3 separate regions of the Homo sapiens genome follow, and regions 1 and 3 are each linked to region 2. The links are contacts of gene promoters, found by promoter capture Hi-C in blood cells and fetal thymus (Javierre and others, 2016). All regions are on one chromosome and are shown on one strand. The core of a region is centred on a gene start or on the middle of the fragment in contact, and the rest is flanking DNA. Distances in the headings are between cores, read along the strand shown. Region 1 has its middle 71 kb from the start of VSTM5. Region 2 holds the start of IZUMO1R (IZUMO1 receptor, JUNO). Region 3 has its middle 46 kb from the start of VSTM5.

Region 1 (4,167 bases), core at 1,139-3,638, 380 kb before region 2:
AAATGGAGAGGAATGAAGCACTCTTCTTTTACTTCTTTTGCATGTCAGTCAGAGTGTAGAAGGGTCAATGCGTAGGAGCTCCTAGCATTAAGGATATGAGTGTATGTGTTTGTGAAAGTGTAATGAATACCAAATGTAGAGCAACAACAAAATGTCCAACTCTAAGAAAATCAGAATTTATTGCTACAGTGAAAGTTGTCCGGGAGGGCCAGTGAATTTTAGCTAGGCGTTTGGGCCAGAGTTTTATTCTCAAGAAACCAGGTCTGGGAATGGTTACTGCACCTCTGAGGCAATGCCTAGAGGCTTGTATGTGTCTCTCAGAAGTCATGGTGCTTGCTCACCCAAGATTTGCCTCAGGTTAGACCAATTATAATTTTTTTTTTCTGTTTCCACTGGCCGAGAAATGTCATTGTTGATAGAAAAACCCCTGTATGTTCCAGGCCATCATTTCTGGCAGTTCTTGGGTTTTCTTGGTGAAAGAGTCATGAACATGGTGAATCTCTCCATTATCCTTAGTTTGCCCATTGAGTTGCCAGACTGCCCCAGCATTTCCTCCTTGGAGCATTTCAGATAAGGGGCTATCTGTGTTCCCTCAGGTGAGGAGGCTAAGATGGTTTGATGTAATGATGTGGGGCTGCAGGTGATCTGTCTGCCTGCTTGGGGAAGAGTATGAAATAGTTTCTGAATTTTTCCCAGATCTATAGCACTAGCCATTCTGATAAGCTAATTCATACAAAGGTCAGCCTCGTGTGATGGGTAGAGCTTTGGATTTTGAATCGGAAGATTTGGGTTTGAGTGCTTGCTTGTATGTGATTACATACAAAACTGTGCATCGACTGACAACCTCTCTGAATCTTGCCTTTTTTGCTTAGTGACATAAGTACATTGATATCTCACTATTTCTACATGAGTTGTTTTGGGGATCAGTTGGATAATGAATGTGAATGGTAGGGGGCCATATGGAGGAAGGGATTTATAAAAAGTGCTGGGATATAGTTACAGGTCTAACCAACATGCCAGGTAATGTCTGCATTTTAATTAAGCTTTCTAAAGACCATACTCTTCCTTTATTGTCATGCTCAGATGAAACTCCATTTCAGGTCACTCTCAAGTAACATAGCTAAGAACTCAGGGCCTAAAATAACATGTGGCATAGAATAAGCAATCGAACATTGGTTGACTGGATGACAGAATGATTGGGTGTGTAATGGAATGTGATTAAGTATACACCTACTGGATATTGTGGGGAGGATTTATTTACTGGGCATAAAAAGGGTACCTATAGATACAGAATTTGGATGCCATAAAGAATAAACAAAGGAAGCTCTAGGTTGCTCAGTAGAGAGTTTTTTAAAATGCTGCATTGCTTATTACAGATTATAAATTCAGTATTGTCTCTAGTAATTTCAAAATAATTGAGTGTGTCAATTATTAAACTCTTGGTTGCCAGCTTCAATGATTAAACTCTTGGTTCCCAGCTTTCTTTCTTTTTTTTTTTTTTCTTTTTTTTTTTTTTTTGAGACAGTCTCGCTCTGTTGCCCAGGCTGGAGTGCAGTGGCGCAATCTCGGCTCACTGCAACCTCCGCCTCCTGGGTTCAAGCGATTCTCATGCCTCAGCCTCCCGAGTAGCTGGGACTACAGGCGTGTGCCACCACGCCCGGCTAATTTTTTTGTATTTTTAGTAGAGACGGAGTTTCACTGTGTTAGCCAGGATGGTCTCGATTTCCTGACCTCGTGATCCACCCGCCTCAGCCTCTCAAAATGCTGGGTTCTCAGCTTTCTATACTTGGGCTTTGGGGCTGGGACGCTGCAAATCACCTTTCTCCTTTACCAACTGCTCACTCGTTGACTCTGCCAGTAGAGGGTGCTAGAGGAAGGCTGGAGGAAGAGAAAGAAACATGACTCTTCTCATTGGCTTATTGTGCCTCTCAGATACCCCAGCAATGCTTCTTCACCTTGGCAGGGCCAGTTTGTTTCAGTGGCATCAGCTGAATCCAGTTAGTGGTTTCCCCAACAATTGCAGAATCAGCCTCACAGCAATGTTGCTCTCTGCCTAACCTGGGCCACCAGCTCCAGTGGCCAGTGCCTCTTTCTCAGAGGTGCCCTTCCTCAGAAGGGTCCTAGGCCCCACAAAATTTCTCCTCTAAGTGTCTAGGTTTCAATAATTCCAGCCTCTTCCCTTTGTTTCCCCAGTCCTAGGGATGGGAACTACATCCTGCACTTGCTACCTTTGTGATAAATTTCAGTGTTCTCCTTTTGCTGTTTCAGTTCCTCCAAATCTACTAACCATTCTTTATATGAAATTCTCTCTGTTAAAATAGCTAGCATGGAGACTTATGATTTCTGGTTTGGCACGTTAGAATCCTAGAAGTCACACTCCATCCTAACAAGTAAAAAGCTGAGCAAACTAAAAAAAAATTAACTCTTCTTAGATCCACAAGAGAAGTGAGGTCACTGGGAAAATTGTGCTTCCCAAACTGGAGACAGACAGGCAAATACACAGAATCACAACTTATAGGAGCAGAAACCCACTAGCAGAAACCTCTGTGGAACCACTGCCAATGTAGGAAAACTTGAATCATAATTGACCAATTGCTGGAGGCTTAGTGTGGACAAGCCTGATAGATAAAAACTCCAGGGACCAAGTTAGCAGGGTCCCCCATGCTTTTTTGAGTTTTGCTTCTTGGAGCTCTATCAGGTTCTCTCAGTGAATATGGGAGAAAAATCCCCTTTGGCTTCCAGCAGGGAGAGGAAAAAAAAGAATCATTTGAAATATACCAGAGCCTTCCATTCTTCTTAACAAGGTCTGCCTTCAGGAGAAACTATTTAATCAGGTAAAATATTTACCTGTTGTTTTTGTTGTTGTTGTTGTTATTTTTTTTGTTTTGTTTTGTTTTCCAGCGCCTTACTGACCTGGGGGAAGGGAAACATCCAACTCTAACTGCTTCTGGCCTTCCACGTGGGAGAAGGGAAATACCCACCTCCAGTTCACTCTAGCCATCCTGTTCCACATAAAGGGGAGAGAGGAATGCAGAGACGTGTGAAGTTCATAGTCCAGAGGCACAGGCTCACTAAATGACTGAACCTAGTCACAGGACTATAGCATGCTTCCCTTTCCCCCACACGATACTACCACCTTGCTAATGGCCTATTTACAGTAGTTCCTTTTACTCAGAACATCATGTCTGCCTACCAGGAAAAAGTTACAAGGCAAATAACACAGTTTGAAGAGACAGAGCAAGCATCAAAACCAGACTCAGATATGGCAGAGATGTCAGAATTATCAGACCAGAATTTAAAAACTATGGTTAATATGCTAAAAGCTCTAATGGATAAAGTAGACACCATGCAAGAACAGATGGGCAATGTAAGCAAGGAGATGGAAATTTCAAGCAGAACCAAAGAGAAATGCTAGAGATGAAAAACATTATAACAGAAATGAAGAATGTTTTTGATAGGCTTATTAGTATACTGTACACAACTAAGGAAAGAATCTCTGAGCTTGAAGATCAAAGAGATCTAAAACGAAAATCAAACTAAAACTAAAAATCAAAGAGAAAAAAGACAAAAAAAATCCCCAGTATATCCAATACCTGTGGGAAAATTACAAAAGGTGTGACATACATGTAATAAAAATACCAGAAGGAAAATAGAGAAAGGAATAGAAATATTTGGAATGATGATGATTGAGAATTATTCCAAAATTAATGCCAGACACCAAACTACAGATCTAGGAAGCTTAGAGAACATAGAGCAGAATAAGTGCAAAACAAAACGAAAACAAAAACCTCAAACAATTAAAAAACAACAACAACAACAAAAACCCCAAAACAATGCCTAGGCATATCATATTCAAACTACAAAAAATCAAAGATAAAGAATCCTGAAAGAAACCAGAGGCAAAAAAAAAAACTTACCTATAAAGGAACAAAGATTAGAATTACATACAACTTCTCAGAAACCAAGCAAGCAAGAAGAGAGTAAAGTGAAATATTTAAAGTTTTGAGCACGAACTCCCCGCCAACCTAGAATTCTGGACTCTGTAAAATTATACTTCAAAAGTGAAGGAGAAATAAATAATGTTTCAGACAAAAAAATTGAGGGCATTTGTTTCTAGTAGACTTGCCTTATAAGAAATGTTAAAGGAGTTCATTAGAGGGAAGGAAA
Region 2 (3,978 bases), core at 882-3,381:
GGTGAGAAGAATTCATGAGACCCAGTAAGAACTCTGAATCACTGAAGTCCCCTTCGGCTGGCCTCTGACATCAGATTCTCACCAGGAGACTCCTGGCTCTAGCTCTTCACTTTCGTAGTCTGTTCTCAAATTCAGTGGGGGAGTGACCTCAGGATGGGAGAGGGGAAGGAAGTCATCACTGCCCAGCATCTCCAGTGGCCCCAAACCAGAGCCAAGGCTGGGTTGCTTCACCTACTGCCCTGCCCTCCTTGTCCTCCCTCAGAGCCCGCTGAAGGCTGCTGTACCTCTTCTTTTGGAAACGCAAGTGTTGGTTTTGTTGTGTGTGTGTGTGTTTTAGAATAAAAATTGTCTTGAATCAGCCACTTCAAATTGCTTCATCTACAGTCAGCTTTGACTTATCTGCTTTCAGTCAGAAAACAGATTGCTATGGAAGGCTCAGTCACAATAAGGCAAAAATGAGCTTTGCTCAAGGGTCTCAAGCTGCATCTCCCGAGAGCAGATGCTGGCCGGCCTGATGGTTCTCTGAAAGGCAGCCTCACTCACTGGGTAATTCCTTCCTCCCTCCCTCCCTCCCTCCCTCCACCTGCATATGCGCTGGCTGCAATTTTAGCTCATTTCCTACAGCTTTGTCCTGGAGACTGTTATCAAGCAAGCCGCCCTTCGTCCTTCTTCACACCCTATGAAGGACAGTTGTCAGAGGACCTATTTCCATTTCAATAATTACTCTTGTGATTCATGTCTGGATTCTCGGCTCTGGCACCTCCACAGCCATTTTAAACTGAACCTTAAACCCCAAATCTCTTACCTTATCAATGCTTGGAGCTTCCTGAATATTCATGAGGAACTGAACAGAACATGACAGCCTGCTTCTCCCTCTGTCAGGCTATAGAGATGCTATTACCATTTGGTATCTGACCCTAAGGAGGAGACTCCAGGCTCTGCTTAACGTGGGGACATGGGAGACTGGGTTAATAACTGTCACTGTTCTAGAATAAAGCCAACACACGCCTCCCAATACATGCACAACCTCATTATGGCATTTAACGTTAAAAAAAAAAAAAAAGCAGACCTCACTTGAGACCCAGGCACCCAGGCAGTATCTACTCTTTTAGTCCCGGAGGTTTCTCCCTCACCTGGTCCTTAAGCATTAGATAGGGAGTCGAGAATACCTGAAATTATATCCCAGCTCTGCTACTCACCGCTGAGCCTCAGTTCCCCACAGCTAAAACAAGGAGGGTGTTCATATTGGAGGTCTTTTTGAGACCTCAGATCCTGTAGACAGTACCAGGCCAGTGCCTGGCTCCTTGTTTGTGCTCAGCATTCAGTGGCTGTGATTACCCAGGTGTGGAGAATGTCATTTTCCAACATTAGTATATGCTTTACACATCAGTTGTAGCTGAACACCACAGAATGTATTTTATTCCATTAAAAAAACGCTTTTAGTGTTTTGTTTTCATTTCCTTTGTATCAATAAAACTTCAGTGATTTCAGCTACTTCTCTTTCAGAGAGAGAAAGAGAGGACATATTATAAAAACAAAGAAATATGCTCCTTTTCCAGCATTTTTATCATCTTTGGGACTCTCCCAAGAATCCTATCCAAGTTTCCAATCTCTCCTTAGCTGAAAAGGATAGTCTTGCAAATATGATCACTGCTGAGAACACTTGTAGAATATTTCACAGGACAACGATTCCTGTATGCTAAGGGAGGCTGCTTGGCGGGTTATGGAGGGACTTTCTTTGTTTTGTTTGCTTTGGCTTTGTTTGTATGTTTAAATTCTTGGGTCCCCAAGGCCACACTTCATCTCTGCATCCTGTGTCCTCGGTCTGTGCTCCAGCAGGGACCATAGTTCCTGTGGGCTGTGCGAGGACACTGTCAGAAAAGCCACCAGGTGACTGAGCTGATGCTTGGCTAACAGTGAAGGGGCAGGTAGAGCTACGGAACAGAACATAGGAGGGGCGTGTGGAGAGAGGATAAAAGAATAAAATTTAAAACCATTAAGACTTCCTCTATCCCAGGCACAATGCCAAGGTTTTTGTTCATGAACTTTCTCTTTATTTTTCCAATCCCATAATAAAAACTTCCTTTACAGAGAGAGAAACTGACAGAGAATTTGAGTCATTTTCTCCAGGGCAGCCAGCTAGTAAGTAGCAGAGCTGACAGCCGAACCCGGTAACTTATTGTAGAGCCCCGGATCTTGCCTACGATGGGGTCTGTTTCTCTGAGGAAGCAAACTTCCTCGGAACCCACAGGCCTGCAGAGCTGGGTGAGACAGATGCTGTTTAATGAGAGCCACGTGGAGTTCTCCTCCTGCACCTGGACCTAGTAGAAATCAGACTGGGTAATAAATGGGCGGGACATGGAACTCCCCTCAGCCTCATAGTCTCAGGGGGAGGAGGGAGCAGGAGCACCTGAAGGCTCCTGCCTTGAAAGTGAGTATGAAGAGAGTGCTGGAAGGGGCAGCATCTTTCCTCCTTTTACCTAACAGATCTGATTCTTTAAAAATATTCAAGGCCATGGCTGAGCTTGAAACTGGTTGTCTGGAGAGAGAACAGCCTTAGATTTGGACTTGAGGTTGGGCTCTGAAGAGGGGGGCTGGGCTCTTCTTCCCCAGGATGTTTGAGGCTCTTAGACCAGGGTAGGCTAGAAGTTTCCAGTTTCACCATGATGGGTCCAGGTCAGGCTCCTGCCAGACTTGGGGGACTGGGGGAGCCATGGGCTCCTGGGCTATGAAGGTGAGGGGCCCTGTGTCCTAAGAGGTTGGGTGCTTGAGGCCTGGGGCCCCTCTGCCTTTTGCTTTGTTTTGTCTCTCTTTCCACTACCTCTCATTACCACTACTACCCAGAACAGAGTTGGAAATAGGAAGGGCCCTCCTCCTCATTCCTGTGATGGGGATCAGGCTTTGGATGTAGAAGGCTCCTCCTATCTGACTCATGCCTCGGCATGCCCCTGGCTCTGCAGGGCCAGCAAGGCCTCCAGCACTGTGTCAGGCCTCCAAGGATTATTCTACCTGCCCTGACATTCTGTGATGCTGCCTCCAAAAGAAGGTCCTAGGAGCAGCCAGAGTGTTGCAATTATTTGAGGGAGATTGAAGCCCATCCCCCTTTCCCAGTGCCTGCTATGATGAAGGGGGTGGAGTGGGGTGTCATTTCCATCAAGTGTGCAGCATGGGTCTCTCTGTAGCAGGCCATGGCATGCTGGTGGCCGCTCCTGCTAGAGCTGTGGACAGTCATGCCCACCTGGGCTGGGGACGAGCTGCTCAACATCTGCATGAATGCCAAACACCACAAGAGAGTGCCCAGCCCAGAAGACAAGCTCTATGAGGAGGTACAGAGGCCAGACCTGGGTATGGGATGGGGAAGATCAGGGAAGGGACACAAATGCCAAGATGGTCTCCGAACCTCATCAACCCTGATCATTTGGTTCCTGGGGTTAGGAGTTAAGCAAAGGCAACTAGATGGAAAGAGACTATGCCTTTTTGAGACCATAAGAGCCAAGCGATTCAAAGTTCCCATTTCTGAGCTGCTCTAGCCACTGGGAAAGCAGGGACCGCTGGTGATCCCAGAGATCCATTGTTGACTCGGCACAGATGAAAACAAGCCTTCCTGCCAACAGGTCCTGGGGCAACATATGACTTATGTGACCCCTCCCCAAGCTCCTAAAGGCAATTTCCAGGGATATGGGAGGAAGAACACAGCTGGCATTTGGCCTATGAGACCCTCCCACCCAATGCAACCCCAGATTCCCCTGGGTCTCTCTGGGGCTCTTCTACCTGCTTTGCCCTAAAAGGCTTCTGCTGCCTCTCAGGAGCTGAGAGCCCAGAAGTTGTGTTTCTAGAGGACTGTAGCAGCCTGTGGCAGGGGGTCATTGTGCAGGTGCCTCTGCCCTTTGGGTAAATATTGAGAGATTATCAGGGTTCCTCTTATGTAGGGGCTTACTAGCTAAAGGCATCCCACTTGCTCAGGCCTCCTAAGGGACA
Region 3 (4,162 bases), core at 1,289-3,788, 410 kb before region 2:
CATGGTAAGTATTTGAGGTCATAGATATATTAATTAGCTTAATTTAATTATTCCACACTGTATACATATATCAAAACATCACTTTGTACTCCATGAATATAAACAACTGTAATTTGTTGATTTACAGTAAAAAAAAAAAAAAGACTTGCTCAAGTTTGCATGGCTTTATTTAGCTCCAGTTCAGAACTATTGACTTCAGTCTGTTCTCTTTACCTGACCCACATTTGCCTCACCACCTGGCACCTTTGAAGGTGTGGGTTTTTGTAGTGCTTCGTGCAGTGTTTTGTAGTGCCGGATCAGATTAATATTTGGGGAGCTAGAGAGTAGACCTAGAAGAAAAACAGTCTACAGGGACTAGATTTTTTCTATTTTCTACCTAACAGGATACTATACTCACTTGTCTTTTTAGGGGAACCATAATTCAGTCAACAGATCTCAGTTCCCACTAAATTTGCTTTCGATACAGGCTTTCTGTTTAGAAATGAGTGCCAGTCCTAATGAACAGTGATATTTTTTTTTCTTATTAGACCAGAAGAAACTTGAGGGCATATATTTATAGTCATGGTGCCTGTTACAATGTTTTGGCAAAAAGTGTTTGCTGAATGAGTGCATTTTTCTGCTACGTATACAATCTAGAAGCTTATCTTCCAAGAGCTAACTATTTAATACCTTGAAGACTCAACAGGGGGTGCTCCAAGACTGCCTAGTGTAGTTCACACTTGGTGAAAAAGAATGCTGTTCACCTGCCAAGGAGCTGAAATCTGTGCGTTTTGGTTTAAAACAGGAGCAAGAAGGAGAAGGGGGAGGGAGATGAGAAAAACCTTTGGTTTTGGCATTCTTTTCATTCACAGTTGAGCCATAGTATGAGATCCTCTGTGGTTTTACTTAGGCATTTATGATTCCCTCAGATTTGAGGAGCATTTTCTAGCTCCTCTAGGGCAGAGCTCTCCTATTTTACTTTGTACTCCATACAAGAATTGATAAATTCTGGTTGAACTGAGACAGCTAGCTCTATCTGGAAGCCTGACCCCCATAAACTCTTCCCTGAATTAAGTTTCCTCCTCCTCCATTCCCTTTCTTGGTTGATGGTGTCTGCCGGCCCCAGCATTAGAGTTAAAACTTCAGAGCCACCCTGCTGCTCAGCAATTTCTCCATGAGTCCAGTTGGCATCTAGTCCCATTACCTGCAGTAGTTGTTTTAAACCTTCACTTCTCAATCCTCCCTCCTCCCTCTTTGCTCATCCCACCCCGCTGTTTCAGGAGGTGACTCTCTACTCTCTGAGCCCCAATTCACGTTTCAAGTGGAAAGCGCCTTGTGGAGTCTCCCTCAGCTTTCTAAGTGCACCTTTGGACCACTCCATACTCCCATTTGTCCTCTGTTTCCCTCCCCGTGATCCTGGAAGAGGTATCTTAGATTGTAGTCAACATGAATCCTACCCCTGTCTGGTCTTCCATTTATTTGTTCATTTATTCACCCATTCTTCAAACATTTATTAATCACTGCTATGTGATAGGTTCTGGGAATACAACAGTGAGTACAACTAACAAGGTCTACTAGGAGAGACAGCTGTTAATTGAATAACCAACCTACTGGATGAAGTGGGGTCAATGTTCTCATGCTGTGCTAAGTTGTACTGAGATAATGCAGCTTTTGTTGTTGTTGTTGTTTTTGAGATGGAGTCCCGCTCTGTCACCTAGGCTGGAGTGCAGTGGCGCAATCTCGGCTTACTGCAACTTCTGCCTCCAGGGTTCAAGGGATTCTCTTGCCTCAGCCTCCTGAGTAGCTAGGATTATAGGCACACATCACCATGCCCAACTAAATTTTTTTTTGGATTTTTAGTAGAGATGGGGTTTTGCCATTTTGGCCAGGCTGGTCTCAAACTGCTGACCTCAAATGGTCTGCCTGTCTCAGCCTCCCAGTTGCTGGGATTACAAGCATGAGCCACCGCGCCCGGCCAACACAGCTTCTTAGTTCCTATAACTGATATTTCTTCCTCAAAAGCCATTCTTCCTCACAAGCCAGTTAATAGTATCTCAGGCTCAGAGTAAGGATTCAGACTAAACACACCTGGGGAGGCAATCCCTCTGATAAATCACCTGTACCTGATGGGAAGGGGCCCTGCTTGATCCCTAAAGAAGAGCTTTGCAGGGCACAGTGGCAGGAGGGCTCACCAACAGGCTGGCAGTTCTGATTTCTCATGTTATGCTGTCCCTGTGTCTGTGTGTCAGCGCCCCCCATGGCCTGTGTGGGGGGATCAGAGCATACCTGGGTGGGTCAGGGTTGTGGACATGCAGTACCCACAGAAGGACATGGAGAGGATTCTGGGAACAAGAGGAGGCAGGACCTGGTGGGTTTCTGGGACAGGTCCATGCCCAGGGTTATTAAGTCCTAGGTTCTATTATATGAAAATCAGGTTAAGATGAAAGCTAAGTGGGTCAAAACGGAGGGAACTTGAGGTGTGAGGAGTTTCTGAGCAGACACTGGGAAGGTGAGGCCTGGATGAAGGTCCTGAGCTGGAAGAATAAGAATCTGCTGGCTGGACGTGGTGGCTCACACCTGTAATCCCAGCACTTTGGGAGGCCAGGCAGGTGGATCATTTGAGGTCAGGAGTTCGAGACCAGCCTGGCCAACATGGTGAAACCCCATCCCTACTAAAACAGAAAAATTAGCCGGGTGTAGTGGCAGGTGCCTGTAATCCCAGCTACCTGGGAGGCCGAGGCAGGAGAATCGCTTGAGCCCGGGAGGTGGAAGTTGCAGCGAGCTGAGATCATGCCACTGCACTTCAGTCTGGGTGACAAGAGTGAAACTTCATGTGAAAAAAAAAAAAAATCTGTTTCATAGCTCTTCAGTCACCTGTCACTCACTCATATCTGAAATTCCACCATTAGCCCCTTACTCTTCTGACTCAAGGTTTCAGCCTATATCAAAAGGGAAATAGTGTCTCAGGGAAGGGACATGGAGCTCCTCTCACCTCTTCTATCCCTACCATCAGATTCAAATAGCAGCTGCTGGTAGTTTGTATTTCTCTGGGATCAGTGGTGATATTCCCTTTATAGTTTTTTATTGTGTCTATTTGATTCTTTCTTTATTAGTCTTGCTAGCGGTCTATTTTGTTAATCTTTACAAAAAACCACCTCCTGCATTCATTGATTTATTTGAAGGGGTTTTCTTGTCTCTATCTCCTTCAGTTCTGCTCTGATCTTAGTTATTTCTTGTCTTCTGCTAGCTTTTGAATTTGTTTGCTCTTGCTTCTCTAGTTCTTCTAGTTGTGATGTTAAGGTGTTGATTTTAGATCTTTCCTGCTTTCTCCGATGGGCATTTAGTGCTATACATTTCCCTCTACACACTGCTTTAGCTGTGTCCCAGGGATTCTGGTACATTGTGCCTTTGTTCTCATTGGTTTCAAATAACTTATTTATTTGTGCCTTAATTTCATTATTTACCCAGTAGTCATTCAGGAGCAGGTTGTTCAGTTTCCATGTAGTTGTGCAATTTTGAGTGAGTTTCTTAATCCTGAGTTCTAATTTGATTGCACTGTGGTCTGAGAGACTGTTTGTTATGATTTCTGTTCTTTTGCATTTACTGAGGAGTGTTTTACTTCCAATTATGTGGTCGATTTTAGAATAAGTGCGATGTGGTACTGAGAAGAATGTATATTCTGTTGATTTGGAGTGGAGACTTATGTATATGTCTATTAGTTCGCTTGGTCCAGAGCTGAGTTCAAGTCCTGAATATCCTTGTTAATTTTCTGTCTCATTGATCTGTCTAATATGGACAGTGGGGTGTTAAAGTCTCCCACTATTATTGTGTGGGAGTGTAAGTCTCTTTGTGGTTCTTTAAGAACTTGCTTCATGAATATGAGTGTTCCTGTATTGGGTGCATATATATTTAGGATAGTTAGCTCTTCTTGTTGCATTGATCCCTTTATCATTATGTATTACCCTTCTTTGTCTTTTTTGATCTTTGTTGGTTTAAAGTCTGTTTTATCAGAGAATACTATAAACACCTCTCTGCAAATAAACTAGAAAATCTAGAAGACATGGATAAATTCCTGGACACATATACCCTCCCAAAACTAAACCAGGAAGAAGTCAAATCCCTGAATAGACCAGTAACAAGTTCTGAAATTGAGGCAGTAATTAATAGCCTACCAACCAAAAAA

What was found. Contacts are between HindIII fragments. The CHiCAGO score rates a contact against its expected background, and 5 or more counts as called.
Region 1: a fragment that was not itself captured here is called in contact with the fragment with the promoter of IZUMO1R in region 2 in 2 of 17 cell types (endothelial precursors and M1 macrophages); the score reaches 6.7 in endothelial precursors.
Region 3: a fragment that was not itself captured here is called in contact with the fragment with the promoter of IZUMO1R in region 2 in 1 of 17 cell types (erythroblasts); the score reaches 6.5 in erythroblasts.

The regions. Positions count from the first base shown.
Region 1 is chr11:93,920,024-93,924,190 of GRCh38, forward strand. It overlaps the pseudogene LOC101060084. Among named protein-coding and RNA genes, the nearest start is that of VSTM5, 71 kb to the left of the region's middle. The HindIII fragment of the contact is 2,695 bases long and covers 1,042-3,736 here.
Region 2 is chr11:94,302,449-94,306,426 of GRCh38, forward strand. It overlaps IZUMO1R (IZUMO1 receptor, JUNO), which reads left to right and starts at 2,132. Exons shown (of 5, transcript NM_001199206.4): 1 at 2,132-2,431; 2 at 3,183-3,326. The coding sequence starts at 3,189. The HindIII fragment of the contact is 9,583 bases long and covers 1-3,978 here.
Region 3 is chr11:93,894,869-93,899,030 of GRCh38, forward strand. It overlaps the pseudogene LOC101060084. Among named protein-coding and RNA genes, the nearest start is that of VSTM5, 46 kb to the left of the region's middle. The HindIII fragment of the contact is 3,803 bases long and covers 638-4,162 here.